Regions from separate parts of the Homo sapiens genome. Here region 1 is linked to region 2. The links are contacts of gene promoters, found by promoter capture Hi-C in human tissues and cell types (Jung and others, 2019). All regions are on one chromosome and are shown on one strand. The core of a region is centred on a gene start or on the middle of the fragment in contact, and the rest is flanking DNA. Distances in the headings are between cores, read along the strand shown.

Evidence for each region. The method cuts DNA at HindIII sites, captures the fragments that hold promoters and counts their contacts. A contact is called where the count stands out against the background at its distance.
Region 1: a fragment that was not itself captured here is called in contact with the fragment with the promoter of NANOS2 in region 2 in 1 of the 25 tissues and cell types used here (IMR-90 fibroblasts).

What each region holds. Positions count from the first base shown.
Region 1 is chr19:46,045,238-46,048,753 of GRCh38, reverse strand. It overlaps a transcript of IGFL4 not described here. Among named protein-coding and RNA genes, the nearest start is that of IGFL4, 6.0 kb to the right of the region's middle. The HindIII fragment of the contact is 3,232 bases long and covers 560-3,516 here.
Region 2 is chr19:45,912,527-45,916,185 of GRCh38, reverse strand. NANOS2 (nanos C2HC-type zinc finger 2) reads left to right here and starts at 1,408. Exons shown (of 1, transcript NM_001029861.3): 1 at 1,408-2,972. The coding sequence starts at 1,493. The coding sequence ends at 1,909. The HindIII fragment of the contact is 8,608 bases long and covers 1-3,659 here.

The DNA.
Region 1 (3,516 bases), core at 926-3,425, 130 kb before region 2:
GAGCAGTGATTTGTAGTTCTCCTTGAAGAGGTCCTTCACTTTCCTTGTTAGCTGTATTCTTAGGTATTTTATTCTTTTTGTAGCAATTGTGAATGAGAGTTCATTCGTGATTTGGCTCTCTGCTTGCCTGTTGTTGGTGTATAGGAATGCTAGCAATTTTTGCTCATTGATTTGGTATCCTGAGACTGCTGAAGTTGCTTATCACCTTAAGAAGCTTTTGGGCTGAGATGATGAGGTTTTTCTAGATATAGGATTATGTATCTGCAAACAAGATAATTTGACTTCCTCTCTTCCTATTTGAATACGCTTTATTTCTTTCTCTAGCCTAATTGCCCTGGCCAGAACTTCCAATACTATGTTGAATAGGAGTGGTGAGAGAGGGCATTTTTGTCTTGTGCCAGTTTTCAAGGGGAATGCTTCAAGCTTTTACCCATTCAGTATGATATTGGCTGTGAGTTTGTCATATATGGCTTCTATTATTTTGAGGTACGGTCCTTCAATACTTAGTTTATTGAGAGTTTTTAACATAAAGGGATGTTTAAATTTTATCAAAAGCCTTTTCTGCATCTATTGAGATAATCATGTGTGTTTTGTTTTTAGTTCTGTTTATACGATGAATCACATTTGTTGCTTTGCGTATGTTGAACCAACCTTGCATCCCAGGGATGAAGCCAATGTGGTCATGGTGGATAAGCTTTTTGCTGTGCTGCTGGATTTGGTTTGCCAGTATTTTACTGAGGTTTTTTGCATTGATGTTCATCAAGGATATTGGCCTGAAGTTTTCTTATTTTGTTGTATCTCTGCCAGGTTTTGGTATCAGGATGATGCTGGGCTCATAGGATGAATTAGGGAGGAATCCCTCACTTTCAATTTTTTGGAATAGTTTCCGTAGAAATTGTACCAGATCTTTGTACTTCTGGTAGAATTCAGCTGTGAATGCTTCCAACTTTGGGCTTTTTTTGGTTGGTAGGCTATTTATTACCCCCCAATTTCGGAAATCATAATTGGTCTATTCAGGGATTCAGTTTCTTCTTGGTTTAGTCTTGGGAGGGTGTATGTGTCTAGGGATGTATCCATTTCTTCTAGATTTTCTAGTTTATGTGCATAAAGGTGTTTATAGTATTCTGTGATGTTTGTTTATATTTCCGTGGGGTCAGTGGTAATATCTCCCTTGTCATTTCTGATTATGTTTATTTGATTATTCTCTCTTTTCTTCTTCATTAGTCTGGCTAGCAGTCTATCTATTTTATAAATTTTTTCAAAAAAACAGCTCCTGGATTCATTAATTTTTTGAAGGGCTTTTTGTGTTTCTATCTCCTTCAGTTATTGCTTATTTCTGTTAACCAATAACTTATCTTGGTTATTTCTTGTTTTCTGCTAGCTTTGGGGTTGGTTTGCTCTTGGTTCTCTAGTTCTTTTAGTTGAGATGTTAGGTTGTTAACTTGAGATCTTTCTAGCTTTCTGATGTGGGTTATTTATTGCTATAAATTTCCCTCTTAACACCACTTGAGCTGTGTCCCAGAGAATCGGGTACATTGTCTCTTAGTTCTCATTAGTTTCAAGAATTTCTTGCTTTCTGCCTTGATTTCATTATTTACCCAAGAGTTATTCAGGAGCAGATTGTTCAGTTTCCATGTAGTTGTGTGGTTTTGAGTGAATTTTTAAATCTTGATTTCTAATTTGTTGTGCTGTGGTCTGAGAGACTGTTTGTTATGACTTCAGTTCTTTTGCTTTTGCGAGGAGTGTTTTACTTCTGATTTTGTGATCAATTTTAGAGTGAGTGCCATGTGGCAATGAGAAGAATGTATATTCTGTTGTTTGGGGTAGAGAGTTCTGTAGATATCTATCAGGTCCACTTGATCCAGAGCTGAGTTCAGGTCCTGAATATCTTTGTTAATTTTCTGTCTCGATGATCTAATATTGACAGTGGGTGTTAAAGTATTCCACTATTGTTGTGTGGGAGTCTTAAGTCTCTTGTAGATCTGTAAGAACTTGCTTTATGAATCTGGGTTCTCCTGTATTGGATGCATATATATTTAGGATACTTAGCTCTTCTTGTCCAATTGATCCCTTTACCATTATGTAACACCCTTCTTTGTCTTTCTGGATTTTTGTTGGTTTAAAGTCTGTTTGGTCAGAAACTAGGGTTGCAACCCATGCTTTTTTCTGTTTTCCATTTCCTTGATAAATTTCTCCTCCATCCCTTTATTTTGAGCCTATGTGTGTCCCACATGTGAGATGGGTCTCTCGAAGACAGTATATCAATGGGTCTTGGCTCTTTATCCAACTTGCCATTCTGTGTCTTTTAATTCAGGAATTTAGCCCACTTACATTTAAGGTTAGTATTGTTATGTGTGAATTTGTTCCTGTCATCATGATGCTAGCTGGTTATTTTACAGACTTGTTTTGTTGGTTGCTTCATAGTGTTACTTGTCTGTGTATTTCAGTGTGTTTTTGTAGTGGCTGGTAAAGGTTTTCCCTTTCCATATTTATTGCTTCCTTCAGGAGCTCTTGCAAGGCAGGCTTGGTGGTGACGAATTCCCACAGCATTTGCTTGTCTGAAAAGGACCTTATTTCTCCACTTATGAAGCTTAGTTTGGCTGGATATGAAATCCTGGGTTGGAAATTCTTTTAAGAATGTTGAATATTGGCCCCCAATCTCTTCTGGCTTGTAGGATTTCCACTGAGAGGTCCGCTGGTAGTCTGATGGGCTTTTCTTTGTAGGTTACCTGGCCTTTCTCTCTGGCTGCCCTTAACATTTTTTCTTTCATTTCGACAATGAAGAATCTGCTGATTATATGTCTTGGGGTAAATCTTCTTATGGAGTATCTCACTGGGGTTCTCTGTATTTACTGAATTTGAATGTTGGCCTGTCTTGCAAGTTTGGGGAAGTTCTCCTGGATGATATCCTGGAGTATGTTTTCCAACTTGGTTCCAATTTCCCTGTCTCTTTCAGGTACCCCAATCAGTCATAGATTCTGTCTCTTTACATATTTCTCAGAGGTTTTGTTCAGTTCTTTTTGTTCTTTTTTCTCTATTCTTGTCTGCCTGTATAATTTCAGAAGGACGGTCTTTAAGCTCTGAAATTCTTTCCTCTGCTTGAACTATTCTGTAACTGATACTTATGATTGCATTGTGAAGTTCTTGTGTTTTCCAGTTCCATTGGGTCAGTTATGTTCCTCTCTAAACTGGCTATTCTGTCAGCTCCTGTATAATTTATCATGATTCTTAGCTTATTTGCAATGGGATACAACATCCTCCTTTAGCTCAGTGAAGTTCATTATTACCCATCTTTTTCTTTTTTTTTTTTGAGACAGAGTTTCACTCTTGTCACCCAGGCTGGAGTGCAGTGGCGCGATCTCAGCTCACTGTAACCTCTGCCTCCCGGGTTCAAGCGATTCTCCTGCCTCAGCCTCCTCAGCATCTGGGATTATAGGCATGTGCCACCATGCCCAGCTAACTTTTGTATTTTTAGTAGAGAGGGGGTTTCACCATGTTGGTCAGGCTGGTCTCTAA
Region 2 (3,659 bases), core at 159-2,658:
ATCCCAACTACTTGTGAGGCTGAGGCAGGAGAATCACTTGAACCTGGGAGGCGGAGATTGCAGTAAGCCAAGATTGTGCCACTGCACTACAGCTTGGGTGACAGAGCAAGACTCCATCTCATAAAAAAAAAGACAGGGTCCACTCTGTAGCCCAGGCTGGACTGCAGTGGCACAATCATGGCTCACTGAAGCCTAAACCTCCTGGGCTCAAGTGATCTTCCTGCCTCAGCCTCCTCACTAGCTAGGATTACAGGCACATGCCACCATGCCCAGCTGATTTTGTATTATATGTAGAAACAGGGTCTCACTATGTTACCCAGGCTGGTCTCAAACTTCTGGCTTCAAGTGATTCTCTAGCCTCAGCCTCCCAAAATATTAGGATTACAGGCGTGAGCCAGCATGCCTAGCCCAAGAGGGGGCATTCTAAGTGAGATTGTTCTGTGCCAAGTTCCTCTGCCACTTTTAACATCAATTCCCAGTTCCCAGAGTGATTATGAAACCCGACTCTGCCATTTCCTTGTTGTGTGACCTTGGATACATTCCTTAACCTCTCCAAGCTTCATATCTTTCTCTGTAAAATGAAAATACTAGGCCGGGTGCGGTGGCTCACGCCTGTAATCCCAGCGCTTTGGGAGGCAGAGACAGGTGGATCACCTGAGGTCAGGAGTTCGAGACCAGCCTGGCCAATATGGTGAAACCCTGTCTCTGCTAAAAATACAAAAAAAAAAAAAAAAAAAATTAGCCAGGCTTAGTGGTGGGCGCCTGTAATCCCAGCTACTCAGGAGGCTGAGGCAGGAGAATCACTTGAACCCAGGAGGCAGAGGTTGCAGTGAGCTGAGATCGTGCCATTGCACTCCAGCCTGGGCGACATAGCAAGACTCCGTCTCAAGTAAATAAATAAATAAAATAAATCAGGTCATGTTGTTATTATTATTTTTGTCTTTTTATTTTTTGTAGAGACAAGGTCTCGCTATTTTGCCCACGCTGGCCTAGAGGTCCTGGGCTCAAGCGATCCTCTTTCCTCAGCCTCCCAAAGTGCCAGGATTACAGGTGTGAGGCACTGCGCCCAGCCTGGCTGCTATGATGATTAGGAATAACTCTGAAGTCTATGAAGGGTGCAGCCCCTCCAGCCTAGGGGTGGGGGATATTTGCAGACATGGACTTTCTTTGAACAGATAGGGAAACTGAGGCACAGAGAATGGAAGTGTCTTCCCAGAGGTCACAGAGCACCTTGGCAGCAGAGCTGGGACCAGAGATCAGGGGAATGACCTCCTTCCACATCTCTGTGAAGAACTAAAGTCAGATGGGGGTTATGGGCAGGGAGTGAGCCCTTTAAATCCTAAGCTCCACCTTTACTTAGAAGAGTCTCTGGGCGTTATAAAAGGGGATGCAGCTCCCTTCTGCTCTGGGAAACGCCTGCTGCTCTTGCCCTTGCCCACGGGCCCCCAGCCCCAGCCCCTCTCCTGTGGCCCACCACCCCTGCTTTGGTGCCATGCAGCTGCCACCCTTCGACATGTGGAAGGACTACTTCAACCTGAGCCAGGTGGTGTGGGCGCTGATCGCAAGTCGGGGTCAAAGGCTGGAGACCCAAGAGATTGAGGAGCCAAGTCCCGGGCCTCCGCTGGGGCAGGATCAGGGGCTGGGGGCGCCAGGGGCCAACGGGGGCCTGGGGACCCTGTGCAACTTCTGCAAGCACAACGGGGAGTCCCGCCACGTCTACTCCTCACACCAGCTGAAGACACCGGATGGCGTGGTGGTGTGTCCCATCCTGAGGCACTACGTGTGTCCCGTGTGCGGGGCCACCGGTGACCAGGCCCATACGCTCAAGTACTGCCCGCTTAACGGTGGCCAGCAGTCCCTCTACCGCCGCAGCGGGCGCAACTCGGCCGGACGCAGGGTCAAGCGCTGAGCATCGTGAGATGCTCACCACCCGCACCCCTGACCCTCCTGGTCCATCCCACCCAAGTCCCTAAACTCTCTCTTCCAGTCACCCAGCCCTTTGGAATTTCTGGCCCCCAGAACTCCACCCTGGCTGGATCCTGAAACAGTGGAGGCTGCTGGGAGCCAGGCCAGCCCCGCCCCCTTGGACCTGTCAGCCCTCGGAGCTCTGGCCTGTGGGCGTTGGCCTGAGGGTCCTTGGTGCCGCGGGAACCCTTCCTGCACGGCCCTGTAGCGCCCTCTGGGCCCCGGTTCATGGATCTTTTGTCCTCGTGGGGCCTGCTGGTGACTGGAGCCCTGCCCCTTCGACTTCTCTGTTCCTTGTGGAGTTCTTGGATTTTTGAACCTCCAGGATTCCACGGTGCTGTCCCAAGCCAGCCCTTAGGAGATACTGAACAAGGCTGGCTGAGAAGTGCCTACTCAAGAACTTCAAGATGGGATGTCGACTTAAGACCAGCCTTCTCCATCTTCAGCCTCCTGCAGAACCACGGTGTCATCGTGGACCACGCCTGTTCATTCCTTCCCTGACCTCAGTACCCATCCGTCAGGAGCGGAGTAGGACTCTGGAGAGCACCGTATCACTGGAGGGCACCGTGTCTTCGCAGGCTCACCTGTGGATGGAGAGCCGTGGGGTGAGCTGACACCTTTCAATGCCCCCTGGTTGTTCTTCCCCTTGTTCAGCCCATTGCACCCGGTACCTGCCCCCATCCCCAAATCACCGATGGGTCCTTTCCCCCAGCGAGAAGCATATCTCTCGACCACCTCCCGTCCGACCCCCCAAATCGTGATAGTTGACTAAAGGACATTTTTTTTTCCTCCTGTGTTTTTCAACCTCCAACGTTCAAGTCAAGGAACCGCCGATAAGAAGGGGGTTTGAGTACCCGGATGGGAATGGCAATGGCCTAGCTTTTATTTTAGGGGCAAAGAGAAGAAGGGCCCCCGTCAGATTTTAAGTTGTTCAGTTTTTGGCACAGGGTCGGGACCCTGAGTATTGAGCTCTGGTGAATAAAAAGGTTTTCTAGTCGTCTTTGAAATGGCTGTATCTGTTTCCGTCTTTGGTTTGTTTGTGAGACAAGGTCTTGCTCTGTCGCCCAGGCTGGAGTGCAGTGGTGCGATCTTGGCTCACTGCCCGGATTCAAGTGATTATCCTCCCTCAGCCTCTTGAATAGCTGGGACTACAGGTGCGCCCCACCACGCCTGGCTAATTTTTTTTTTTTTTTTTGAGACGGAGTTTTGCTGTTGTCGCCCAGGCTGGAGTGCAATGACGCGATCTCGGCCCACTGCAACCTCTGCCTCTCGGGTTCAAGCGATTCTCCTGCCTCTCAGCCTCCGGAGTAGCTGGGATTATAGACATGCACCACCACGCCTGGCCATTTTTGTATTTTTAGTAGAGACGGGGTGACCGAGTAGGCGGGACTACAGGTGCACGCCACCACACCCAGGTAATTTTTATTTTTGGTTTTTGTTTTTTCTTTTTTGAGATGGAGTTTCGTTCTTGCTGCCCAGGCTGGAGTGCCAATGGTGCGGTCTCGGCTCACTGCACCATTGAACCTCCCAGGTTCAAGCGATTCTTCTGCCTCAGCTTCCCAAGTAGCTGGGATTACAGGCGCCCACCAACACGCTCGGCTAATTTTTTTTTTTTTTTTGTATTATTAGTAGAGACGGGGTTTCACCATTTTGGCCAGGCTGGACTCGAACTCCTGACCTCAGGTGATCCGCCC